Linked DNA regions of Homo sapiens: regions 2, 3, 4 and 5 are each linked to region 1. The links are contacts of gene promoters, found by promoter capture Hi-C in blood cells and fetal thymus (Javierre and others, 2016). All regions are on one chromosome and are shown on one strand. Each heading gives the region's core, a stretch centred on a gene start or on the middle of the fragment in contact. The rest is flanking DNA. Distances are from core to core; before and after follow the strand shown. Region 1 holds the start of GIMAP4 (GTPase, IMAP family member 4). Region 2 overlaps LOC107986858 (a long non-coding RNA gene). Region 3 overlaps LOC105375566 (a long non-coding RNA gene). Region 4 overlaps LOC728743 (zinc finger domain-containing protein LOC728743). Region 5 overlaps LINC00996 (long intergenic non-protein coding RNA 996).

What was found. The method cuts DNA at HindIII sites, captures the fragments that hold promoters and counts their contacts. A CHiCAGO score of 5 or more calls a contact.
Region 2: a fragment that was not itself captured here is called in contact with the fragment with the promoter of GIMAP4 in region 1 in 1 of 17 cell types (non-activated CD4 T cells); the score reaches 6.1 in non-activated CD4 T cells.
Region 3: a fragment that was not itself captured here is called in contact with the fragment with the promoter of GIMAP4 in region 1 in 8 of 17 cell types (total CD8 T cells, naive CD8 T cells, non-activated CD4 T cells and 5 more); the score reaches 11.4 in total CD8 T cells.
Region 4: a contact is called between a fragment that was not itself captured here and the fragment with the promoter of GIMAP4 in region 1, in 1 of 17 cell types (non-activated CD4 T cells). The highest score is 7.1, in non-activated CD4 T cells.
Region 5: a fragment that was not itself captured here is called in contact with the fragment with the promoter of GIMAP4 in region 1 in 1 of 17 cell types (non-activated CD4 T cells); the score reaches 6.7 in non-activated CD4 T cells.

What each region holds. Positions count from the first base shown.
Region 1 is chr7:150,564,537-150,569,963 of GRCh38, reverse strand. GIMAP4 (GTPase, IMAP family member 4) reads right to left here and starts at 2,574. Exons shown (of 3, transcript NM_018326.3): 1 at 2,527-2,574; 2 at 5-76. The coding sequence starts at 62. The HindIII fragment of the contact is 6,433 bases long and covers 1,204-5,427 here.
Region 2 is chr7:150,352,244-150,357,670 of GRCh38, reverse strand. LOC107986858 (a long non-coding RNA gene) reads right to left here. Exons shown (of 3, transcript XR_001745420.3): 3 at 1-372. Among named protein-coding and RNA genes, the nearest start is that of RARRES2, 13 kb to the right of the region's middle. The HindIII fragment of the contact is 2,327 bases long and covers 1,276-3,602 here.
Region 3 is chr7:150,768,151-150,773,577 of GRCh38, reverse strand. All of the region lies in intron 2 of LOC105375566 (a long non-coding RNA gene), which reads left to right. Among named protein-coding and RNA genes, the nearest start is that of TMEM176B, 30 kb to the left of the region's middle. The HindIII fragment of the contact is 2,439 bases long and covers 1,024-3,462 here.
Region 4 is chr7:150,405,907-150,411,333 of GRCh38, reverse strand. LOC728743 (zinc finger domain-containing protein LOC728743) reads right to left here. Exons shown (of 3, transcript NM_001395976.1): 2 at 2,846-3,750; 3 at 1-1,174. The coding sequence starts at 3,722. The coding sequence ends at 3,111. Among named protein-coding and RNA genes, the nearest start is that of ZNF775-AS1, 25 kb to the right of the region's middle. RefSeq lists enhancers at 4,336-4,385, 4,679-5,187. The HindIII fragment of the contact is 2,546 bases long and covers 1,818-4,363 here.
Region 5 is chr7:150,433,753-150,439,179 of GRCh38, reverse strand. LINC00996 (long intergenic non-protein coding RNA 996) reads right to left here. Exons shown (of 4, transcript NR_034033.1): 1 at 5,351-5,427. Among named protein-coding and RNA genes, the nearest start is that of LINC00996, 2.8 kb to the right of the region's middle. RefSeq lists enhancers at 3,095-3,194, 3,415-3,634, 5,286-5,385. The HindIII fragment of the contact is 3,219 bases long and covers 1,511-4,729 here.

The sequences.
Region 1 (5,427 bases), core at 1,325-3,824:
TCACCATAACTGGCCCCTGGTGTGCTGGGGTTGAAGCTCATACTGCCGTATTGGGCTGCCATTGTCGCTTGAACTCCTGTAGATCAAGAAACATAACCATGTCATTTTAGGGAAATGGAAGCAACTAGAATCCCTGACTGCCTGTAGTCAACAACAACTTTCTTTTTGCCATGAGCTTGCTACATTGATTTCTCCTGCTCCATTTCCCAAAAGTCTCCTCAACCCTCCATTTTCAGTTTCATTTTCAGATTGTTCCTTTTTCTTTACACAAACATAAATGCTTCCAGTGCTTCCTCACAGGGGTTCTGGCCCCTTCCCCCCTCTATCTAGAGATTCGTGGCTTGGATGTGTTTATATGAGGTCTGTAGCCTACACCCTCCTCAGAGTTCCAAACTTTTATATCTCCCTCAGCTTATAAAAGTTCCAAACTTTTGTATCTCACTCCATTTGGCTATTTCATGGGCATCTCAAACAGAACCTGGCCGAAATTAAGCCCTGACCTCCACATCCTGTCTGCCTTCCTGGCTCCCCGCTCAGCAGATGGCACCAACATCTAGCCCCGTGGCTCCTGCAGAACTTTGGGGTCATCTACAACTCTTTTATCCTCTCTCTCTCATCAGCCCATCACCAAATCCTATTGATTCCACTTCCAAAAAACTCGAAATTACCCATTTCTCTCCATCTTTGTGCTAATACAACCCACTGTCAATTGTATACAACTTAACAGGCTTCTAATTGATCATCTCCCCTTCAATCCCTTTTCTACTCTACAATCAGATGTTCTTTTAAAACTAAAATTTGATATTTTTTCTTGTTTAAATTTCCTAGTGGCTTACTATTGGTTTCAAAATAACTGAAGTCCTCAGAATGGCCCATAGGCCCTGTGTGATCAGCTCTCTCCTCTCTCCTATGTGTGAGCCACACTACCCTCAATGTTCTGGAAATCTAGGCTCCTTCCACCTTCAAGGCCTTTGCAGTTATCATTCCTTCTCTTTGGAGCACTCACCCTCCAACCTAGTGCCCAGCTTGTTCCTGCTCAACCCGCAGGCCTCGGCTCTCCAGAGAGTCTTCCCCAACACCACTGTCTACCAGCAACACCCTCTGTTATGATCCACTGCACCCCAGAGGCTTCTTACAGAATATGTATTACTTTAGGAAGTTAATTGCTTGATTTTTTTACTGTCTCCTCTTATACTACAAGCTTTGTGATGAGAAGACCACATATGTCTTGTATTTCTCATTATTCCCTGGGGACAAGCACAATACTGGGCAAAGAATGGTTATCGATCATTGTTAAATAAATAAATGGATAATCTCCCTGCTTCTTGCCTTTGATTGATCATTATGTCCAGCCCACATCTGATCTGTGAAAATGACAATCCATTCCTTTATTAATTAATATGTAGTGTTATAGAAACATGGTATTAATTTTAAATGTTTTATTTCATTGCTACCTACAAACATTTTGCAATGGAGAAAGATATTTGAAGAACTCTTATTGGAGCAGACTTTGAACAAAACAGGCAGAAAATGGTAGTTGTTAAAGACAGAGTCACCTCATAGGAAGCCAACAAATATGAAACACTGTGAAAAGCCAGATATTTCTTTTGAATGACTATTTCTTTATCCTTCAAGAATAGGGTATAGGAAACAGCTTCTTGTAAACAAGAGAAATCATGGCATTTTTTAAAAATCAGCTTTGGTGGCTGGTGTTAGGAGAGAGGATAGGACACCAGCAAGAAGAAAACAATACTGTGACATTCTGGGTTTTTGTGACATTCTCTGGGTGTTTCTTCATATCCTCCTTCTAGTGTGTGGGCTCTTTAATGCTGCTCTGCTGTTAATAATTCAGAGGCAAAGCCAGGAGACTGTGCTTCTGTAGGTGCTGACTTCAGGTGGCTGAATTCTCCTCTCTCTGCCTAAGGAACAAGCACCCATCAGCATCCAGCTTCTCCTGAACTGTAGAGAGTCACACCAGGTGGCATCTCCCTCCTCCTACCCGCTAAAGGGGAGCTCAATGCCCAGTAAACCCAGGACTGTCCCTGAGGAGACAGTTTCCCTAACGGGCAGCTCCGAGCAGACAGTTAACCCTGTAACAAGACCTCAGACTGCAGAGCCTCCAATCCTGACCTGGGTGCAGTCTTTGTGGGGCCACATATGGAGCTGTGCCCCTTACACATCCCAATGTTCCTCTTCCCACCAGCTCCCCCAGAGCTAATTCTGTCCGCTCACCCAACTTTATCCCTGGAAGAATCAAAGTTTCTATATAAATTCCACAACCAGCGAGAGGAAACATTTATTTGTAAAACAAGTATCCTCTGAGCAGCAATCTCTGGAAGAGGCATTGATTTGTAGGGCTCAGCCTTGAAAACAGATCACAGCCTAAAATTAGCAAAGCCAGGAAACGGGAACCAGCGAGAATATAGTCTGAAAACATGTTTACCAGACGATTTAAGATACAGGTCCCTCCTCACCAAAATCGCACATTCGTCCCGACCCCCACCACACACACCCCTATTCCCTTACCTGAAAAATCAGGATCTTGCACCCCTCTCTGATTTTGCACACAATACTAAGCCAGGATGTTGAGAAACAGGAGAAGAGAGGAAGTGAGGGGAGGAGCTGTCCAGATTTACTTGTGCAAGGGACCTGCCCACCTGATCATCCAGCAGCTCTAATAGAACTTTCTGCAGGGATGGGGTTGTTCTGTGCTGTCCAAGATGGTGACCCTTAGCCACACGTGACTACTGAGCGCTTGAAATGTGACGAGTGTGATTGCAGTTCTGAATTTTAAATTTTATTTTGTTTCAATTTATTTAAAGTTAAATAGCTACTCCATTGTCAGAATTCTAAAAGGCAAAGTCAGGCAGAACAACTTGCACCAGGCATTTTCCCCAGAAGGAAAGAAGGAATATTCAGCTTGGTATGCCTGGTGGCTACCATACTGAACCTTGCAAAGGCTCTGCAGTGAGACAAAAAACATGGGTCATGCTGTGACATTCTGGAAGAAACTTCTGGGCCAAAACTAGAGAGTTATCAGTTATTCTGAAAGACCCTTGAGCCCCTGAACCCCTGCTCAGCACAACAGGCCTCCCAGCTAAGCCCCCATACCCCTTTCTCCCAGTACCTCAGGTATGTCCTCTGAGTCCACAGTGTGTCCTTATTTCCAGGGTATGTCCATGAGTCATCTGCTAGAAGCAAAAGAGAGTAAATGACTTTCACTGGACTGACTAGGATGGGCCCAAAATTCACCTCCTGAGATGGTCCTGGAACCACTGAAATATTCTAAACACTGACATCTGACACTACTTACCACTAAAATGGAAACTTTGAGAGTATTGTAATGGGGTCCCAGCTCACCGTTATAACCAGTTATTTTTCCATTGTAAAAGGGGTCTCAATTTACCATTATACCCCACAGCTGAGACCTTATTTAGAATTACATAGCACTTTAGTAATTATAAAATTGCTAATAATTCTAAAGAGAACTGTAAGAGAAAGACATACATTTCTTTGAGGATAGAATGTGATTGGCCCTGGGTATACAAGCACAGGATGGCTACACTAAAAAGCAGAACAAGGCAATGGAATACATCTTGCACCAACAGTAAGGATAATTTACATTCCAGAGCAACATGACTTAAATAACAAAGACCACTTGGTCCCTTGGTTTGACAGGCAAACGAAGGCAAGTCCAAAAGAACAGGCAGCATGAGAAAGCATCTCCGCGATTCTGAACTGAGATACCTTAAAAGACTAGGATTATATTTTGTTTCTGAAGCCTAAACCTGGCTAGAAGGTATATATTATTCTATTTAATTACAGAAATTGATGCAAAATATAGTATTTATTTTTAGTACTATTAAAGCACTGGATCATTACTTAGGGAATCTTTATTCAGGTTACAGGGATCACTGCAGTAGGAAAGTTCTCTGTTAGGGACTACATTTGCAGTGAGCACCACGTTTCATCTAATGCTTTAACAATAAAGCAATGTGTAGACAAAAATGTCTACATTAAAGATCCAGAAATGAAAACAATAATTTGTGATACCACATTAAAAATTTAGAAAAGGAACAGCAAATTGAACCTAAAGTAAGGAGGATGAAGGAAATACTAAAGGGAAGAAATCTTGAAACAGAAAAAAAAAATAGAGAAAACCAATAAAATCAAACATGAATTCTTTGGAAATAATTAATAAAATTGATAAGCCTCTATCTACATAAATCAAGAAAAGGGGCAAAACATACAGTATACAAGTTATTAATATCAGGAATGGGAACGAGATCATGCAGGCATTAAAGGGGTTGGGCCTGATCACCTCAACATCTAGCTCCAGTTAAAAAAGGGGGAGAATCAGGAGGTTATGTATGCTAACCTCCAAAAACATATGAAAGAGACAGTTCAACCTACTGCACCCTCAGGGGAAGCTCCGGAATGGCCACCCCCACCTAAGCCTTGTGAACTGCAGGCATGGGAGCCTGAGATGCCGTTTGCGGCACCTGTTATTGCACAACCTGCCGTTAACTATGGTAAAAATCAGACTCAGCCACCAGTTAATTACGGTTAAAAATTCAGACTTGTCCACCTGTTAATTATTCCAAAGAGATGCTTCAGGCTCCTCCCAACGTTAAATATGGGACAATTCAGGCTTCCATTCATCAGGCACGAGAAAGTGGGGACTTGGATGCTTGGCAGTTTCTGGTGACTGTCATACCAGAGGAGCAGCCTGGACATGCTCAGTCACACTGGGAGCCATTCCCTTTTAAAATATTGAAAGACTTAAGGCAAGCAATTGGACAATGTGGGCCAAATTCTCCTTATGTTCATTCCCTATTACAATCTGTGGCTTACAACCAGCACTAATGATTGAGGAAAAAATACAACAAGCTCCATTCACCTACAGGGGTTATTGCTCAGAGTGAGGACTTGGTTGAATGGTCTTTTTATAGTTCCAATGAACAAAAACCAGATTCGACAGGTTTTTATTAACTCCTTTAATTGGCAAGTAAATTTATTGGCAAGTTAATTGGCAAGCTGAATTCATAGGAAACCTTAACAATCATTATCCAAAAAATAGGATTTTTCAGTTTTTAAAATTAACTACATGAGTTCTGCCAAAAATTACCCATAATGCTCCCTTAGAAGGAGCAGTGACTGTATTTACAGACGGCTTTAGTTCTGGAAAGGCAGCCTGTGTAGGACCTAAAAATTGAATTATTCATACTAATTTCCATTCAGCTCAGAGGGCTGAATTACAGGCAGTTATAACTGTGTTGAAAGATTTTAATCAGCCTGTAAATATTGTCTCTGGTTCGGCTTACGTTGTTCAAGCCACTCTAAACATAAAAACTGCATTAATTAAGTACATTGTTGATGAACAACTTTATCAACTGTTTTCTTCCTTACAGAAGGTGGTGCATCATC
Region 2 (5,427 bases), core at 1,190-3,689, 210 kb after region 1:
CTAACATCCAAGCTTCATTTGGAAATGCAAGGAGATTCTGAACAGACTCTGCTAAGTCTGTGATGCGGCAGAAGCAGGCGTGTTGTCAAGTGGTAGTTTCCTGTCGGTGGCATGTGGGGGGGCGGTTTATGAGCCATCTGTGCACATTTGCCAAATCACTGAAATACCACCGCTAACCTCGGCTCACTCCTGCCCAGACCCCTTTCACATGAAACCACTCGGTGACTTGGAGGAATCAGAGTGTAGACCTGGCTTCAACTCTTTACCCTCTCATCTGCTTCCAAGACCGAATCCGGGTCATGGTTCAACTTGATGTCTTCAGAGTTGGCCAGGAAAGTCCCAGATGCCTCCTAACTGGGTTGCCTTCACTTTCTTAAAACAGGAGAAGAGAATATCCTCTTAACGGGATTTAAGAAGGTTTATCTTTGGAAATTATTAGCAATTAAAACAATGTCACATGTTTACTACATAATGTTCTATTAAATTACTACATTCTATAAATAATATACTAAATTAAATTTTAATATACTAAATCTTAGTATATTATTAAATATACTATATTATGTGTAATATGATAATATACAATATATTATTGATATATTCAAAATACATTGAAATTAATATTAAAAAGAACACTTGAAAAACATTTAATTTCACAGCATCTAAACTACCCTAAGTGCCTTCCACTGGCTAAGATTCCACTCATTTTCTATGACCTGAGCTGGTTTACGGTTCTAACAAATAGGCACATGGCATATAAAACCAGTGCAACAAATTGGCATGATTTCTGGTTAGAATGAAATTAGAAGTTCTTTTTACTTTTTAATATTTTTTAAAGGCAGTCAAATTTAGCAGTGGAAGATTGTATACCAACTTTAGTGACACTAATGCGAATCAATCCTGATAACTCAGTACCAGCCAAGAAGTTCTGAGGATGAAACCACAAATCAACACGGGATGATGGAAGTAGGTAAGAAAAATAATTCCACAGCATTGTTACTTGAAAAACTATAGAACCCCCTAAGTTTAAAGAGCAACGGACATGGGTTGTGCTCGGCATCTCCATCTAGTGGTAGTTTTTTTGTTGGTTGTTTTGTTTTTGTTGTTTTTTTTTTTGAGACAGGGTCTCACTTGCCTTGCCCTGGGGTACAGTGGTGCAATCATAGGCTGGGTTGCAGTGGTGCACTCATAGCTCACTGTAGCCTCCAACTCATGGGCTGGGATCCTCCTGCCTCAGCCTCCCAAGTAGCATGCACCACTATGCCCAGCTAAGCTTTTTTTTTTTCAGAGATGGAGGTCTTAACTATGTTGCTGAGACTGGTCTCGAACTCCTGGTTTCAAGTAATACTCCCGCCTTGGCCTCCCAAAGTGCTGGGATTATAGGTGTGAGCCACAAGCCCTGTTTATAGCAGTGTTCATCCATTCATCAGGGCAGAGTCCTTATGACCTAAACACCTCCCATTAGGCCCTAACTCCCAACGCAGTTGCATTGGAAATTAAATTTCCAACACATGAACTTTAGAGGACACAGACCATAGCTGGGTTTGAACATATGAATTTGGGAAGGATATAGTTATGGGCTAAATTATGTCCTCTCCCCAAAAATTGTGTGTGTGCATGTATATATATACATAAATGTAGTAATTTGTCTTTCTAAGTAACTCATAGATTCTAGTTAAACATGGTGGATTAGATACATATGTTTATCCCCACCCACTCCTGTCGCATTTGCCATGGTGGACTCAGCTTGTGCACTAGGCCTCAACAGACCACATCAAAATGGAGTCATTCATGATAAATGTGACATAATCAAACTGAAACTTCAAGGAAGCAGATAGTTCCTAAGACAGACCAGGTTTTGTTTTTCTATTGTAAACAGGAGATTCCAGCACAAGGAGGTCCCCTATACTCTCACCTTTACCCACCTTAGAAAACCCACTGTTCTACTATTTCCCAGTAGGATTTGGGACCAAATAAGTACATTTATGATGATGACAGGGTGACATTGATGCCTAAAGTTTTGAGACGTTGACTAAAGAGGGAAAATCATTAAGTTTAGCCCAAAGCTGCCTCCTTATGTGTTTTAAGTTCGGCCTAAAGGTTTCTCCTCCCTAGTGAACAGTGAGCTAACTGGATGTGTAAACAAACGATAACCTACTCTTGTGCCAAACACCAAGTTTCAGCCAATCAAAGGCAACCAACTGTTCAAACCAGGTTCACATGAGGCAAACTCGAAGCTGCAACCAATCTGGCTGCTTCTGTGCCTCACTTCTGTTTTCTTTCTGTCACTTTCCTTTTTCTGTCCATAAATCTTCTTTGGCCACATGGCAGCTCCAGTCTCTCTGAACCTATTCTTCTGGTTCAGGGGCCACTGGATTCACAAATTGTTCTTTGCTCAGTTAGCTCTGTTAAATTTAATTTATCTAAGGCTTCCCTTCTTTTCTTTTCTTTTTTTTTTCTTTTTTTTTTTTTTTTTGAGATGGGGTTTCGCTTTGCTGCCCAGGCTGAAGTGCAGTGGTGTAATCACAGCTCACTGCAGCCTCAATCTCCCGACCTTAAGTGATCCTCCCACCTCAGCCTCCTGAGTAGCTACAACTACAAGCATGCGCCACCACGCTCAGCTAGTTTTGAAAAAAAAAATTTGTTTTGAGACAGAGTCTCGCTCTGTCGCCCAGGCTGGAGTGCACTGGTGCGGTCTCGGCTCACTGCAACCTCCACCTTGGGTTCAAGCGATTCTCCTGCCTCAGCCTCCTGAGGCACGTGCCACCACACCAGGCTAATTTTTTTTTACTTTTAGTAGAGACAGGGTTTCATCATGTTGGCCAGGCTGGTCTTGAACTCCTGACCTCGTGATCCGCCCGCCTTGGCCTCCCAAAGTGCTGGGATTACAGGTGTGAGCCACCGTGCCCAGCCTGAAAAATTATTTGTAGAGATGGGGTCTCACTATGTCGCCCAGAGTGGTCTCCGGCCTCGGACTCCCACAGTGTTGGGATTGCAGTGCGAGCCATGGTGCCTGGCCGAGTTTTTCTTTTAACTCTCCTAAAACCCCATTAAGACAATAGCAAAGGAATAAAAACATATAAATTCACAAGGAGAAAGATGGTGGGGAAGCAATGGTGGTAACAGACTGAGCAGAGCAGAGTCCCTGCAGTGGGGTGCGGCAGGGGGTAAGAGAATTGAATTGATTGAACCCTGAAAAGGCTCTGAACCAAGAGACACAAGGTGCAGGAGAGACGGATGAAGCTGGGGACACTGGAGAATGCCCCCTCAAATGCTCCACCACTGCAGGAGGCCAGAGTGTACTCTGCAGGAACGGAACAGGTAAGGGCGAAAGGGTCATAGGGGGAGGTAAAGTCAAAGTCTCTGTGCTAAATGGTGGCTCTCAGCCTCCTGACCCCACTTGGCCTCCAGAACACAAACAGCCTGGTGGTGACAAAAGCTCTGAGGATTCTTTTTTGGAAAGACTGTACAGGCCCAGAGAAAGGACATGCAGGTAATACTGACATTTGGGATCATTTAAATAAACAAAAAATCAGCCTCGCTGCATGATCACCCTGCAACACAGCCCACCAATTAACAGGGCCCCACCTTCCTATGAAGCTTTCAATCAGGCTTTTTAGGAATGATTCCAACGTGAGAGACCAAAACCACAGCTGAAATAAGGAGATGAATGGAACTTTAAAAAAGAAATCCTATATTTATACGATGGTATTTTAAAACTAGGAATAAGCTCCTAAAACGGAAAGAGCTAGGCCAGGCGCAGTGGCTCACGCCTGTAATCCCAGCCCTTTGGGAGGCCGAGACGTGTGGATCACCTGAGGTCAGGAGTTCGAGACCAGCCTGGCCAACACAGTGAAACCCCATCTCTACTAAAAATACAAAAATTAGCCAGGCATGGTGGCGCAGGCCTGTAATCCCAGCTACTTGAGAGGCTGAGGCACAAGAATCACTTGAACCCACGAGGCGGAGCTTTCAGTGAGCCAAGATCGCGTCACTGCACTCCAGCCTGGGCACCAGAGAAAGACTCCCTCTCAAAAAAGAAAAAAAAAAGAATTCTAGAAAGAGAAAATGGAGAGAAGGAGATTGTCAATGAAATAACATAAAGACATATCCTCCAGCTAGAGAACATGAAAGTGCTAACTGAGAAACTGTCAATGAAATAACATGGAAATACATCCTGGAGCTAGGGAGCAGGAGAGTGCAAACTGAGGAAGCCCACGGTTGCTGAGATGAGGAACAGCATGGGACAATGTACAGACAGGCCCCTTCCAATCAAAGGGCCAGGAATCAGAACACCTGACTTCCCTCCAGAAGCCCCAGATGCTGGAAGACAGTACAGCTGGCAAAATCCCAAGGGAAGATGATTTTTCAACCTAGAATCTTACCCACGAAGGATACATATATATATATGTATGTATGTATTTTTTTTTCGAGACGGAGTTTCACCCTGTCACCCAGGCTGGAGTGAAGTGTGGCACAATCTCAGCTCACTGCAACATCTGCCTCCCAGGTTCAAGCGAGTCTCCTGCCTCAGCCTCCCAAGTATCTGGGATTACAGGTGTGCGCCACCATGCCTGGCTAATTTTTGTATTTTTAGTAGAGACGGGGTTTCATGATGTTGGCCAGGCTGGTCTTGAACTGCTGAGCTTAAGTGATCCACTCGCCTCAGCCTCCCAAAATGCTGGGATTATAAGCGTGAGCCCCCACACCCAACAAAGGCTATAATTTAAACATAAGGTAGAATAAAGATATTTTCAGACATGCAAACGTGAGCATGTATTCCTTTGATGAAAATAAAAATTAATTTTTATTAAATTAACATACACACATGTTAAAAACAAAAAACAAAAAAACTCGGCCGGGCGCGGTGGCTCACGCCTGTAATCCCAGCACTTTGAGAGGCTGAGGCGGGCGGATCACAAGGTCAGGAGATCGAGACCACATGGCTAACATGGTGAAACCCCGTCTCTACTAAAAGATACAAAAAAATTAGCCAGGCATGGTGGCGGGCGCCTGTAGTCCCAGCTACTCAGGAGGCTGAGGAAGGGGAATGGCGTGAACCCGGGAGGCGGAGCTTGCAGTGAGCTTGCAGTGAGATCGCCCCACGGCACTCCAGCCTGGGTGACGGAGCGAGACTCCGTCTCAAAAACCAAACCAAAACAAACAAAAAAACTCAAGCATTTCAAAAGGAAGTAAAAAATAATTTCAACGATAAGACATTCTGGTAAAGGAAAACCTACAGAAACAGTAAAAAGACCAGTGTTTGCCAGGGTTTTGGGGACAGAGAGGGATGAATAAATAGGTGGAGCACAGAGGATTTTTAGGAGGGTGAAATCATTTCCTATGATACTGTAATGGTGGATACACCTCATTGTGGAATGTGCTACAGGGACCAAACTCTAATGTAAACTGTACTTCAGGTAATAA
Region 3 (5,427 bases), core at 994-3,493, 200 kb before region 1:
TGATTTGGGCAGTATGGCCATTTTAACAATATTGATTCTTCCTATCTATGAGCATGAAATGTTTTTTCATCTGTTTGTGTCATCTCTAAATTCTTTGAGCATTGTTTTGTAATTCTCATTGTAGAGATCTTTCGCCTCACTGGGGTTGAGAATTACAAAACTCTCCTTGGTTAGGGAGGTGAAAGATATTTTACTGAAAGAGATTTGAAAATGCCTAGGTATTTTATTTTTTTCTGTGTGCGTGGCTATTACGAATGGGCTTGCATTCTTGATTTGACTCTCAGCTTGGACGTTGTTTGTGTATAGAAATGCTACTAATTTTTGTACATTGAGTTTTTATCCTGAAACTTTCTTAAAGTTGTTTGTCTTGAATCTGTAAGAGCTTTTGGGCAGAGACTATGAGGTTTTCTACATATAAAATCATATTGTCTGAAAACAGAGATAGTTTGACTTCCTCTCTTCCTATTTGAATGCTTTTTATTTCTTTCTCTTGCCTGATTGCTCTGGCTAGTACTTCCAGTACCATATTGAATAGGAGTGGTGAGAGTGGTCATCCTTGTCTTATTCCAGTTTTCAGTGGGAGAGAGAGGGAGAATTCAGAGGGAGAGAGAGACAGAGTGGGAGAGAGAGAATCATATTTAAAGTGTACGATTTAATAAGTTTTGACACATATCCATTGGCCCCCCCCAAAATATCCTCATGACCCTTGTCAGTCCTTCCTCCTGACACTTCTCACCCCCATCCCCGGGCAGCCACTGACTTGCTTTTTGTCACTATAGAATAGTGAGCATTTTCTAGAGTAAGTGGAATCACACCATATATACTATATGTACTCCTTTTGTTTGACTTTTTCCACTGAGCATAATAATTTTGAGGTTCACCCATGTTGTGTGAATCAGTAGCTCATATCTTTTTATTGAGAAGTCATATTCCATTGTATAGATATGCTACAGTTAGTTTATCCATTCACCTGTTGATAGATATTTTGTTTATTCCCAACTTTTGCCTATTGCAGATAAAGCTTTATGAATGATCAGGTATAAGACATTTATGAACACATGATTTCTTTTCTCTTAGGAATATACCTAGGAGTGGAATGCCTGAGTCATATTATGGGTGTGTAAGATTACTTTTTAAGAAACTGGCCAATTGTTTTCTAAAGTCATTGCACCACTTTTTTTTTTTTTTTGAGATGCAGTTTTGCTCTTGTTGCCCAGGCTGGAGTGTACTGGTGTGATCTCAGCTCACTGCAACCTCCGCCTCCTGGGTTCAAGCAATTCTCCTGCCTCAGTCTCCTGAGAAACTGGGATTATAGGCGCCTGCCACCACACCTGGCTAATTTTTTTTTTTTGTATTTTTAGTGGAGACAGCATTTCGCCATGTTGGCCAGGCTGGTCTTGAACTCCTGGCCTCAGGTGATCTGCCTGTCTTGGCCTCCCAAAGTGCTGGGATTACAGGCGTGAGCCACTGAGCCCGGCCAATTGCACCATTTTATATACCACCAGTCCCTCCACATCTTCACCAACACTCAGTGTGTTCAGTGTATTTAATTTTAGCCATTCTAATAATCCTTTTTAGTGCTGCATAATATTTCCATGATATGAGTATACCAATATGAGTATCCCTACTGATGCACTTTTACCTCTCTTCCTATGTTTTTGCCTCTAGAAACAATTCTGCAAAACCAGACTATACTAACTGGAGCTTTTATTGCCATGAGACGGAGTCTTTGGAATAGGGTTGATGCATTAAAGTGTATAAATATTTTAAAATAAAATAAATCCTATTGAGAGCTTTCTTAAAAGGCTGTAATAATTTACATTTACCAGCAATGCATTAAAGCATCTTTTGCGTTTCTTCCCAACCTCACCACTATTTTTTTTTTTTTTTTTTTTTTTGAGATGGAGTTTTGCTCTTGTTGCCCAGGCTGGAGTGCAATGGCGCGATCTTGGCTCACTGCAACCTCCGCCTCCCGGATTCAAGCGATTCTCCTGCCTCAGCCTCCGGAGTAGCTGGGATTACAGGCATGTGCCACCACACCCGGCCTTTTGTATTTTTAGTCGAGATGGGGTTTCTCCATGTTGGTCAGGCTGATCTCGACCTCCAGACCTCAGCTCACCCCTAATTTTTGTCAATAGTATATAACTTTTTACAATGCTTTCAAGTTGTTTTGATTTTCATTTCCTTCATTATGAAGTGAATTTTTTTCACATGTGTATTGGCCATTGATTGTTCATCTGTGAACAGTCTAAGGATGTTGCACATTTTTATTTTTGTGAGTTTTTTTGGTAACATAGATTTTAAAATTTCATCTTAATTTTTTTTTTTTTCATTAGAGATGAGGTCTCACTCTGTTACCCAAGCTGGATTTCAGTGGTGCAATCAGATCTCACTGCAGCCTACAACTCCTGGGCTCAAGAGAAAAATTTATTTTTTTATCTTTAAATTTGTTTATGGCATCTTTGCCATATTAAACACTTTAAAGCCATCTTTTCTTTTATAACTTCTGGCTTCATGTCTTGGTTAAGAAAGTACATTCAACTCTTGGCTTGTACATATAATCTCCTGTATTTTGTCTTAAGATTTTCATGTTATTTTTTTACAGACACAAATTCAATCCTTCTTGGATTTTATTTTATTTTTTATTTTTTTAGATGGAGTCTTGCTCTGTTGCCAGGCTGGAGTGCAGTGGTGCGATCTCGGCTCACTACAACCTCCGTCTCCCGGGATAAAGCGATTCTCCTGTCTCAGCCTCCCAAGTAGCTGGGACTACAGGCGGGCACCACCACGGTCAGCTAATTTTTGTGTTTTTAGTATAGATGGGGTTTCACCATGTTGGTCAGGATGGTCTCGATCTCTTGACTTCGTGATCCACCTGTCTCAGCCTCCCAAAGTGTTGGGATTACAGTGTGAGTCACTGTGCCCGGCCTCTTGGATTTTTATGTAGTGTGAGGTAGCAGCCCAGCTTTACTTTCTTCTAATTGGAAAGCTGTTTTTTCCTCACCACTTAACTAAATAACCAATTTTCCTCTGCTTTTTCATACATTTATTCCCATTATTAACTAGGATTCATTATGTACTATGTATATTGTCCTACTGATTTATTTGTGTGTTTTATGCCGATGCCAGACTAACTTATGTTCAGGCATTTTTTTTCCGCACAAGGGAGCCTGAAGAAAGCATATCTAATTCCACACACAAAAACAACAGATTTCAATTGGAATTTAATTATGTATATATCCATTTTGGAAGAATGTATATCTTCATAGTGGTAAGTATTTTCATACCAGAACATGGTCTGTTTTTCTGTTTGTTCAGGTCTTGTTTCATGTTTTTCAATATGGTTGAGCTATATTTATAGTTAAGTATATCATGAATATATATATATAAGAGTATATGTACAGCATAAAGCTCAATAAAGCCATACCCAGTTTAAGGAGTAGAGCATTGCCCTTCGAAGCTTCCCATCCCACCTCCATGAGTTCCTCTCCCTGTCGCTAGGGTATTATTACTATCCTCTCTTTTGTGTTAATCATTCACTTTCTTTCTTTTTCTTTTTTTTGAGATAGGGTGTTGCTCCATTGCCTAGGCTGGAGTGCAGTGGTGCAATCATAGCTCACTGCAGCCTTGACCTCCTGGGCTCAAACGATCCTCCCACTTTGGACTTTTGTGTAGCAAGATCACCTTGTGCACCACCTCACCTGGCCAATTTTTTTTTTTTTTTTGTAGAGATAGGGCCTCACTGTTTTGCCCAGGCTGGTCTCGAACTCCTGTCCTCAGGAATCCTTCTGCTCTGGCCTCCCAAAGAGTTTGGATTACAGGCGTGAGTCACCGCGCCCAGCCTTTCCTTGCTTTTCTTTATAGTTTTGTATCACCTATGTCTGTTGCTCTAAACAATATATATTTTTAGTTTTTTTCCACGACTAACCTTGTCAAAAATGGAATCAGATTCTGTATTCTTCTGGGAAAAGAACGGTTCTTCTTTGATTAAACATTATGTATATGATATTTATTCATGTTGATGTAGGTAATTGTGTTTTGTTCATTTTTCCTGCTGAATATCATTCCACTGTGTGGATATTCTATAATTTGCTTATCCAATGCAGTATTGATGAATATTTGGGTTGTTTGTAGCTTTTTACTATCATGAGTCTTCTTACAAAATATCCTTATGCATTCATGTAAGTTTTTCTTTAAGGCAATGGTCTTCAAACTTTTTTACTTCTGTATTCACTAAAGGGATTTTTAAAAATTTAGGTCTTCTCTTGATTTTAAGCTGAACTTCTAAAATTTTTTCATCATGAATATTTGCAAAGGATGTAATTTCTAGCACATTGTAGATATTAACATTTTTAAATGAAATTACTTCAGTGCAAAAATTGAGAAGCCTTGTTCATATAAACGAATCAATAGAAATATAATCAATTCTGTTATGCTAATGCCACTCAATTCTTTGTACTCCTTCCAAAATAAATGCCAAAACCGCATAGTGGTTTCTCATTAATTTTTAATTTCTATTGATGGATATATCTGTCTTCCTTTTTGTTGAAAACAAAATAGTGGAGACTGCTTGACTTGCAGAAGGATTTAATGGCCAGTCATTAGAATCACTTGATTTCTCAATGTCTGGGAAGTATACCAAAAAAGCTTTATCAAGACATACCAAATGACTATAAATTGTATGTCTTACTCTTTCACTGAAAGGTTGAAAAGTATCCCATTTAACCCATTATATCTAAAATATTTGGAAAAATTGAAATATTATGAACTTTGATAAACCTCTGTCAATCTATTTAAAAAAACTTTTTAAGTGGAAAATTCTAAATACATAGAAGTAGAAAAAATAGCGTACTGAACTCAACGTATCTATCATTAGGCATCAACAGTTATACATGGGCAATCTTGTTTCATCTAAACCCCTATCCTTTCCACTCCTAGTTTTTATTATTGTTTTTATTTTTTGAAATAGGGTCTCACTCTGTTACCCAGGTTACGATGCAGTGGCATGATCACAGCTCACTGCGGCCTTGACCCCCGGGCTCAATGGATCCTCCTACTTCAGCCTCCTGAGTAGCTGGGACTACTGGTGCATGCTACTATCTTCCGCTAATGTTTTAAAAAATATTTTGTAGAGATAGGTCTGTGTTGCCCAGGCTGGTATTAACTCCCAGGCTCAAGCCATCCTCCTGCCTTGGCCTCCCAAAATGTGGAGATTAAAGGTGTGAGCCACCATACTCGGCCCCTTTTGACGTTTCTGACAAACTTCCCAAGATTAATTTCTAAATTAAGCCTTTTTTATTGATCTTGAACTAACTTTGGGACTTTTGAGATGGGCTCCTGGAAAATGTGAAAGAATTTCTCTCTCACCTTGTAAAAGAGGGACATTAAACTAATTGGCTTATTTGATATGTTAAATTATGTGGGAAG
Region 4 (5,427 bases), core at 1,841-4,340, 160 kb after region 1:
AGCGAGGCCCTCATCCTCTTCCTCCCCAGCCCACTGGGCTGAACACTTGGCCAGCTGGGAGGAACCGCTGACTGGGCTTGGTTGGTGGAAGCAGGATTCTTTCTCCCTGGGGCAGACTCAGACCAGACTCAAGCTCCCACCAGCGTCCACAGCAGTCCAGCTTCCCCTGAGACCACACAGTGAAATCAGAGCCCAGGCCAGGAGCAAAGGGCTCCTTTGTGGAAGCCAGCGGCCAGTCAGGCAGAACAAGAAACAAAACCAGAAGAGAAAATCTAGCCCAAGGGACCTCTGCCAATGTCTGGGGAAGGGAAATGAGGCTCCAGAAACCTGACGCACCATTCGTTAGGTCTGGGAGAAGGGAATGACTAAAAAGGGCTCCTCGGAATTCTTTATTCCTGAACAAGGGAAGGAGGCTTGGCCAGGGGGAGGGAGGGGCACTACTTGTACAGTGGCCTTGACTCGGGGCTCAATGTGTGACAGGTAAGGAAAGGGCAGCAGGTGAAGTCCCCAGGGCTGAGGTTCTTAGCCTGGAGTCCAGGGATGGGTTTCATTCAGGGAGTCCAGTGGCTCCTGAAATTGCTTGGGGTTTTTGAGTCTACGTCAGTTATCTGTTTTCCTAGGGAAGGTCCGTAACCTTCATCAGATTTTCCAAGGGCTTCGTGTCTCCAAAGAGCTAAGAAGCACTGCTCAGAAAGGAAAATGAAGCCTGCAGGTTTCATTCACATCTGGAAGAAGGTTTTGCCTCTAGAACCAGGTCTGCCACCAACTTGCTGTGTTAGCTTAGACCAATCACTTCCTGTCTCTGAACTCTAGCCAAGTGGTGGACCAGGCGGGAGCAGAGAAGCCAGCTCTCCACACAGGCATCGTCCTACCACCAGTGGCAGAGAGTGGGGGCCTGTGGCCAGGCAGCCAGGATGAGGTCTGCCCCAGCTGTGATTCCCACCAGGCCTGGAGAGTTTGTCCACCAGAGCTTGGAATCTGCTTCCAATTCCAGGCTCCAACCAGTCACCTCCACTGGTCACCGCAGTGCACCTCTTGAGGCAGGTCTTCTTACTGGATGTGTCCTCATGCCCGGGTGCAGTGCCAGCCAGGCCTCCATGGAACTCCATTCCTGGTCTCCGTGTCCAGATGGGTTCTGCACCTATCGGGTCTTAAGATCCTGCCCACTCTGCAACTGTCGACAGAAACAAAGAGATCAGGATCAGGTGTGGAGCCGTGACATGGCCCTGCCCAGCCACCCCTCTGGGGCTAGGAGGGAGCGATCAGCTGGCCTACCCTGAATCTGTCCTAGGGTTTGAATGAATCCTCTTTGTCCCCTACCAAGCACTGCAAGGATTACGAATCCCATTTACAGATGAGACACCTTGGGTTCAGGGCATTTTGGTGACTGACTCCAGGTGTCCGAAGCCCCTGTTTAATTTCATCTTTGCCACCAATGCTAGTCTACAGCACCTGGGAGTGGTAGGCAGAGGACAGTCTCCGAGGAGCCATAGCCACATAGCACTGAGGATGGGCAGAGGGGGCAGTGGGGAGGGACGAGTCTCCAGCACCCAGCACAGGACTGAATGTGCAGGTCCCCTCGAAGCCCCAGCTCCCTTCCTCCCAAACCACTCCCAGGGATGCCATGTCCCCTTCAAACACCCGTACCACCCCTAACACCCCTGCCCCAGCTCCTATCACATGGCCCCAAATCCTCCCTGCTCCATCGTCCACTTTTTAAGCAGTGAAGCTAAAAGGTTCTGGGATTCAGAATCCAAAACAAAGCCCTGGCTTCCACCTGTTGTACCCCTAAGTACCAACTGTGGTGTAGGCAAGCTTGGCAAACCTGTTTCCTCATCTGCCAAAAGGCTGAAGAGGCCCGTGCCTCAGAGCGCCAGCTTGGAACCAGAGGTCCTGGAGCAGAGTCCTGGCTGCCCCCTTTCTCACTGCCAGACCTTGGCCAGGCCTCTTAGCTGGGGGCCTTATGTTCTCTTGCCCAGATGACCCAAGCCCCTCGAGGCTCCAGCTCTTCCCACATCAGTCTGTCCTCACAGTGCCTCTGATTCTCCTCCTAAAGCATAAGTCTGAGATCATAGCACTCATCTCATTAAAAATCTCAGTGTCCCCACCCCCTGACCACGAAGTCCTTTGTAGGGCAAACCTCCCCTTGGGACACCTGGAGACAGTCACTGAACTATCAGGACCCCCCCTCCCTTGAAAACACCCTTCTACACACTTGCTCTTCCTAGAACAATTTTATTTGTCCCCATGACCTGGTTCAAAGCCATCAAACTCCCCTGGGTGACGAAGAGAAACCAGTCACCCTCCTCGGTCTCACCCCAGAGCACTTTGTAGGTTGGCCCCGCGTCACACACCGAGTGTGAGCACCCCGTGTCAGGGCCTGCGGTCCTCATGTGTGTCTCTGGGAGAGCCCAGCCCGGCACAGTCAGTGGCACATGGTGTGGCAGAATCAACTAAGGCTCTGTGCACCAGTGACCTCACCCTCTCTCATCCAGTAGCTGCAATATATCCCAGCGAGGAAGAGTCCCTCATCTATATCCCCAACTTACAGATGAGTAAACTGAAACATGAAGTGAAATGACATCTCAAGGACAGCAGAGAGTGTGTACAGGAGCCAGGAGGCCTAGGGGCTGAGGTTGGGCGTGGGGTTTGTGGAAAGTGGCCTCTCCAAGTCTCTTTCAACTCTGACATTCTGGGGATGAAGATCCGGTAAGCAGCTCATCACAGAGAAACCTACAGCCCGGTACCCAGACCGCCCCACCTGCCATCAAGAATCAACACCACGCACTCCACCCCCACCACTCCCAGCCCTGAGAGGGGCTCTGGCCAGCCCCGCAGGTCTCACCTGCTCTAGGCCGGATGGGCCAGAGAAGGAGAACCATGGCAGGAGCCGGAAGCAGCTGTGCGCAGCCAGCCAGAGGGTCCCGAGGGAGGAACGCGAGCGGGCGGCCGGAGCCTGGCGGCGGCCCACACCTTCAAGAGCCCAAGCCAGCGCTGCCCCTCTCCCGGGATCCCATCTAGAGAGGGAGCTGCGGCCCAGGGCCATCTCCAGGGGTCGGGGACGCACGTGCGGGGCGGGAAGCAGCCGTCGGCAGCAGGCCCCGGGCGCATCATAGCACGCGTCCTAAGTGGGCCGCCTGGCCCTCGGGCCCGTGGCCGTGGCTGCGCTGATGGGTCTTGAGCGAGCCCTCGCGCGCGAAGCTCTTGCCGCAGCGGGGGCAGAAGTAGGGCCGCCGCTCCCCGAAGACGCCGGGGCGGCGCGGGTGCGGCGCGGGCATGCGCGCGTGGGTGCGCTGGTGGTTGAGCAGGAAGCGCGGCTCGCGGAAGCAGCGGCCGCACTGCGCGCACTGGTGCGGCTTCTCGCCGCTGTGGATGCGCTGGTGCGTGAGCAGGTTCTGCTTGAGGCTGAAGCAGCGGCCGCACTCGGGGCAGGGGAAGGGCCGCTCCCCGGTGTGCGTGCGCTGGTGCACCTCGAGGTTGTGCTTGACGCTGAAGGCCTTGCCGCACTCGGGACACACGAAGGCAGCCGCGCGGCCCGCTCCGGCGTGCGCCTTCTGGTGCCGCACCAGGCTGGGCTGCTGCGAGAAGGTCTGGCCGCACAGCGGGCAGCGGTAGGGCTGCTCCTCTGCAGGGTGGTGGATGACCAGGCCTCGCTCGTCCCCCAGACCCTCCTCCCCGTCCCCCGCAGGGGACCCGCCCCCGGAGGACGCCAGCTCGGTCATGGGCACTTCCAGCTGCAATCACCAGTCCCTAGGGAGACAGAAGCGGGGGCGGGGGTGGGGGGTGGAGAGAGAGGGGTCGGGGAACACGAGGGTTAGCCAACCCCCAGCCTGGCAGGGACACTCACCTCCCACAACCTCCACCTTTCGCCCCGTTTTGTTCAAGCTCAAGTTCCCCTGCTGGGAATTGGTGTTCCTCTTCCTCCACTGCCTTTTAAGCACGGCCTACACTCCTTCCAGTCCCTTCCCAAGGGCACCTTCTCCTAGAAGCCTTCCCTGACCTTTCCACCCCGGGCTTAAACACCGTGTGACACAACCATGTGGCTCTCACTGATCATACTGCACGAGGGTCAGTCATGCCACCTCTGTCCCCCGACTCCCAGCACCCTAAGGACAGAGCTGCCTTCTTTCAACCCCAGCACCTAGCACCATGCCAGCCAGCCACACAAGACACTAGACAGATGGTGATGAGTTTCAGTTAGGATTTTCAGTTTCAGTTTCAGCTAGGATTTTCAGTTACCTTCGTCTAGATATGTCTTATCCCTCCAACCAGATCTCAAGGACAGGGGGAGGTAGGGAAGTGCACCCCAAACTTGGAGAAAAGGGTGGCATTATCAGTGATTTAAAGATATTTTTGTGAAGCTTAAAACAGGAAAAAAAACACAACCCTGTAAACTTGAAAGTGACCTCGGTTAAACATTAAAGGCGGCAGCTCTTTGTTTATCAAAATGAGGCATGTGTTCAAAAGGTTTCCAAGTCACTGAACCAGGGTGTGGGCTCCCAGGGGGACTGGTCTCAGCGTGATTCCTCTTGGTATCCTCACAGCAAAGCCTGGCCCAAGGCTGAGCAGCACCCTCAGTGCCCAGCCAACACCCCCAAACCCAGCTCCCTTCATGCTGCTTCTCCAAAGGATCCTCTTCCCAGGACACTGTGTTCCTCTTAAATTGTTTCCCATTGTCCTCACAACAGCCCTGAGAAAGGGGCGGAGCAGGGTTATTGAGCCCCACTTTAAAGATGGGGAAACTGAGGCTCAGTGAGGTCAACATACTTGCCAAGGTCACAGAGCAAGGTGAGCCTGGACTAGGCCTTAAGTCTCCTGTCTCACTGTTGAAAGCTCTTTTCAATGTACTAGCTGCTCAACAACTAAACACTCCTCAAAACACACACACACCCCCCACTGCCACCATCCCAGCCGTCACAGAGCCATGCATTCCAAAGGGCCACTTCTCCTGTAGATGCACTGTCTACTGCCACCACTCCCACGACCCCCACCAAAACTTGGGCTCCTGCAGGGCCCTAAGGCCTGCCTCATCCATTCTCCCCAACCCCATCAGGGAAGCCGGCTGAATATTCCACTGGACCTCCCCGAAGGCCTCTCTTCACTTCCAGCCTCAGTCAACCTATCTGCAGAGTGGGGTCTCAGGGCCACCTCCTCTGTCTTCCGTACCCTCGAGGCCGGGGTGGAACTGACCCTGGGGAAGGAGACAAGTCCTACTTGCAAGAGACCCCACCCACAAGTCTTTTCCACAGGCAGCTGCACTGACATCTGCAAAGACAGATCATCAAAGTCCCCTTGGCCAATCTCAGCCCGGCCCTGTGACTGGGCAGCCTCCTCACTCTCCCCAGCTATACCCCTGACTGAGGCCCCGCCTGCACGCCGAAAGGCCCCCCGTCTCTCCCCCAAGTTCTTTCCTCCCATGCCACACTC
Region 5 (5,427 bases), core at 1,871-4,370, 130 kb after region 1:
ACAAGCATGGAAAATAACCCGTGTACTCAACACCCAGCTCATTAAGTCTAAGCAGTTTGTCATTTTTGCTCCAGATTTTTTAAGTGAAAATATTTCAGATACAGCTGTAGCCCTTTATATACCCTTCCAGTGATGAACCTACAGGCTGCTTCCAATTTTTCCTACTACAAATAAGGTTACAATTAACACAAATACAGATGAGAGCTCCCCTGGAGTCTATACTGTAAAGTTAAATTTCTTTGTCCTAGGGAATGCACATTTTTAAATTCACTGGATATCATCACATTGCTGTCCTGTTTATAAAAACTTACATTTGTGTTTGACAGTGGTTGATAGTTATCATTTCTCTACATCTTCACCAATAGCTGGTATTATCAGACTTTATTGCCAGACTGGTGGGTGTGAGATGGTATCAGATTGTTTGATTAGCTGTGAGGCTGAGCATGCTTTAAATGTTTAAATGTCTTCTGTGTCTTGCCTGTTCATATCCTTTGCCCAATTTTTTATTGGGTTGTCTGCACATTCCTTATTAAGTTATAGGCATTTGATATGCTGTATGTTTCTTATATCCTATATTTTATGTTCCACATTTTTATATGTTCTTCTTTTTTATTTTTGAGACAAGATCTCATTCTGTTGCCCAGGCTAGTGTGCAGTAGTGCAATCTCGGATCTTTGCAGCCTCGGCCTCTTGGGCTCAGGTGATCCTCTCAACTCAATCTCCCAGGTAGCTGTGACTACAGGCTTGCACCACCATGCTCAGCTAATTTTTGTATTTTTTTGTAAGATGGGCTTTCGCCATGTTGCCCAGGCTGATCTCAAACTCCTGAGCTCAAGCAGTCCTCCCACCTCGGCCTCCCAGAGTGCTGGGATTATAGGTGTGAGACACCACATCCATTTTTCTATGTTCTATGTACAAATAGTCCCTGACTTACACTTAGGATTGTTTGACTTACAATTGTTCAACTTTACAATAGTAGAGAGCGATATGCATTTAGTAGAAACTGTACTTTGCATTTTGAATTTTGATCTTTTTCCAGACTAGCAATACGCAGTACAATACTTTCTCATAACGCTCCACAGTATTTCATAAATTCCATGAGATTTTTCAATACTTTATTATAAAATAGGCTTTGTGTTAGATGACTATTGCCCAACTATAGGCTCGGGTGGTTGTTCTGAGCATGTTTAAGGTAGGCTAGGCTAAGCTATGATGTTCCATAGGTTAGATATATTAAATGCCTTTTCCATTTATATTTTCAACTTACAATGAATTTATCAGGACATAATCCCTTCGTAAATCAAGGAGCATCTGTACTAATAATTCACTATTTTATGCTTTGCAGGTGTCTTTTCAAAGTCTGTGGCTTGTATTTTGATGTAGTTTATAATGTCTTCTATTATACAGAACTTTGATCTGGTCAAAATTATCAATATTTTCTCTTATGATTTGTGCTTTTTTTGTGTACCTTAAAAACTGGAAAATCTTCCTCATATTTCTTCTGGAAGCTTTATTTTTTTTCACAGTGGAATTTTTTGTGAATAGAGTGAGATAAAAATGTAATTTTATGACCGGCCCGGAGGCTCACGCCTGTAATCCAAGCACTTTGGGAGGCCGAGGTGGGTGAATCACTTGAGGTCAGGAGTTCGAGATCAGCCTGGCCAACAGGGTGAAACCCCATCTCTATACAAAAAATTAGTGGGGGCATGGTGGGGCTCACCTACCAGCTACTCGAGAGGCTGAGCCGGGAGAATCACTTGAACCTGGGAGGTGGAGGTTGCAGTGAGCCAAGACCGCACCACTGCACTCCAGCCTGAGCAACAGAGTGTTCTTATTTTTATAATTTATAATTATAAAATTTATAATTTAAAAAATTATATATATAAAATTTTATTTTTTCATATAAATAATTAGTTGTCCTAGCACTGCTTATTGGATATTTCATCCTCTACTCTCTACTAATCTGTAATGCCAGCCAGACCATCTTAATACATCAAATTATAATCCAGCATTCTTTCTAACATAGCATATATAAGTGGTATTATAAATCAATGAGAAAAAGATGACATCCTAGTCAAAAAAAATGCTCAAAGCACATAAACAAAAAATTCACAAGACAAGATATGCAAATGGTAATAACTATATGAAGAAATAGCCTCATTTAATTAGTAAAGAACAGTAATTTAAAGCCACAAGATACAAACATTCATTTGCCAAACAGTCAGAGGTTCTACCTGGCATCACTGCCAGTGGAAGAGTAACTGATAAGGTTTTGGGAGGGTATTTTGGCAATTTAGCAGCCTTTACATGAACATATGCTTTCCACTTTTAGAAATTCTACTGCCAGGATTTTATACCTACACTTATAGAAATTATATGTCCACTTCTAATAATTTATTGTAAGGAAATAATTAAGAGTATACACAAATATATGCCATAAGCATGTGATTTTAATTATAAAACCCAAAACAACCTAAATTTTCAAATAAGGGATTGGTTATAATAATGTTGCATGGTATATCATTAAAACACATAAAAAGCAGTTTTTAGATTGGTGATTTTCAACTGGTGATTTTTGTAGCAGAGCCCTGTTTTGCAAATAAACGCGCATGTGAAACCCCAATGTGTGAAAGAGATGGATGTGAGGATGCTCCTGGTGAAGGAGTCAGGCAACCCCATCACCCACCTCCTTCAACATCTTTAGGAGGGTGCTAAAAAGAAGACTGTAAAACGCTCCACGGAACCCTGAAGACAGCACTAACACCAAGTATATTTACCATGTATTGTTAAATGAAACAATTTGCTTTTAAAAAAAAAAGAATTGATTCATCTTTTAAATGTACATATGAAGAGAGAATAAATGAATATATTCCAACAGTCTGGACACCAGTGTATTCACAGAAGGGTATGGAATTATGGGGATTCCACCCTTCTTTTCTGCTTCAATGTATAAATTGCAGTGCTTTTATAATAAAGTGAAAAGCAATGGGAAATGAGATGAAACAAAGAGGCATTAATTCAGACCAGAGCACAGAGAAGAAGGAAAAGGGAATATATAGCTATTGCCAAAATAGTGACATACAGCAAACAACCACAAAAATCGACATGGCACAGATACAGCAATAAACACATTTCTCAGTCATCTGTGGGTCTACTGGCTTCATCTTGTTGATCTCTAGGTCAGCTGGAGTGGCTTTGTCCCACATGTCTTCATTTCAGGTACCAAGTAGAAGGAACCGAAACCACCCAGGGAAAGCCCCCAGGCAAGGGCAGAAACCCAGGAGGCCAGCAGAAGCCTGCAGGGTCTTACAAGGGGCAGGCTGAGAACGGGAACCCTCTCACTTTGCCCCATTCTAGTGGCCAAAGCAAGTCACAAGACCAAACCGAAACTCAATGGGCAGGGAAATACAGTCCGCCCAAGATGAGCAATGGCATGGGTATGAATGGAGGACAGGAAAGAATTGGAGTTAATCCTTCAATCCCTCACAGTATGGAGGGCAGGGTCTGTTGACAAGCAGCAAGAGGTACCCAGGAAGGCAGGGCCTGGCTGTCCCCACCAGCACCCCAGACACCCACCTCAGCCCAAAGAATGGCTCAGAGCCACGCTTTCTAGGCCATGAAAGGAGAGGGGCCCTTTCCCTCGTGACCCCAGAGCAGATGGCAGAATACAGTCTAGGAGGAAGTTCCAGGAGGAACATGAGAAACCTCACAAGCCTCGTGCAGTTTAGTTTCTGATAACCACTTCTCTTTCTTTGTCTCATGTTTCCCTTCCTTCGTGAAGTTCCTAGAAAGTGTAAATTTTTCCTTACCTTTAATTTTTTCTTTAATTTTTCTTTACCTTTTTTTTAAGTTGCCATCTAATCTGCCCTTGAAATGCTCTATTCTGTGCCAGTTGTCCATTTCAAGATGGAGTCACTTGTTTCAAACCCAAGCAAAGTAGAGTCAGGAGCCTAAGAAGGGAGGGTCCTCATGCACATGCGCCTACAATAACAACGATTACAGCCAAACACAGTGGCTCACACCTATGGTCCCAGCTACTTGTGAGGCTGAGGCGGGAGGATCACTGGAGCCCAGGAGTTGAGCCCAGGCTACAGTAAACTATGATCACGTTGCTGCACTCCAGCCTGGGCAACAAGGCAAGACCCCATTTCTAAAAAGAAAAGGAAAAAAAAGGACTATTACAAAGACTCTCTGAAGGCTGTGACACACATATGCCTGTAATAAGGACTATTTCCAAGGGCCTTCCCAACTGCAGCCTGCCACAGGAGTCACTGGACGGCCGGCCACATGTTGGAGCACTCTCACCTCACATGCCATCTCCACTAAGAATCTGACCTCAACTCCTGTGCCCAAGTAACCAATGTTCTCTTTGTTCAAAAACAACTCAACAACTCCTGTGCACTCCTCCTTTTGCCTTTATTTTTTTGAGACCAAGTTTCGCTCTTATTGCCGAGGCTAGAGTGCAATGGTACGATCTTGACTCATTGCAACCTCTGCCTCCCAAGTTCAAGCGATTCTCCTGCCTCAGCCTCCCAGGTAGCTGGGATTACAGGCATGTGCCATCATGCCCAGCTAATTTTGTATTTTCAGTAGAAATGGGGTTTCACCATGTTTATCATGCTGGTCTTGAACTCCGGACCTCAAGTGATCCACCCGACTCAGCCTCCCAAAGTGCTGGGATTATAGGCGTGAGTCACCACACCCAGTCTTCCTTGTGCCCTTAAAAGCTTCCCCTTGCCTCAGCCTCCTGGATGCGCCCATGGCTGCTGTGGCACGGGCACTCCGCATCACAATCATGCTGCTCATTTCCAAATAAATTCATCATCTTTGGAGAATCGCTTCTGTTTGTTATTTAGGTTGATAATTCTTCAAAAAAAAAAGTCTATGACTTCAGTGACAAAGAGGGAAGCTGGGAGGTCGGGAGGAAGGTGTGTTAGGAAGAATGTGTCTGACTCTGTGGTTAGTTGGGGTGGGGACCCTTCAGCCTCCTGAGTAGGAGCGGCAGGCCTGGGAACAGGGGAGTCTCCTTCCTAGGTCCTATTGCCTAGGCCCACATGATGCCTACCTGAGGCATATGCACAAAGAAAAAGTCCTTAAAATTTTGTTTTTCTCTAGAACAACCTACAGTCCTAGGGACAGACACACCATCCTCCTAAGTCCTATCACACCCTGGAAAATTGTAACAAAAAGGTGACAGTCTCCTTGGGGCATTGCCTGCAGCCTTAGCTAGGGGCCATCCTAGTTATCTCAATTACTCATCCAATTTGTGATCAGCCCTAAGTTCTGGCTCACTCTAGCTCTCTCCTTCGACTTCCTCATCTCCCAAATGGAAGTGACTACCCCGACCTACCAGGCTGTTGTGGGAACCGAACGATGTGGCAGAGAGTCCAGCTCAGCTTCCTACCGTTCCACGAGGGCCACTGAAAG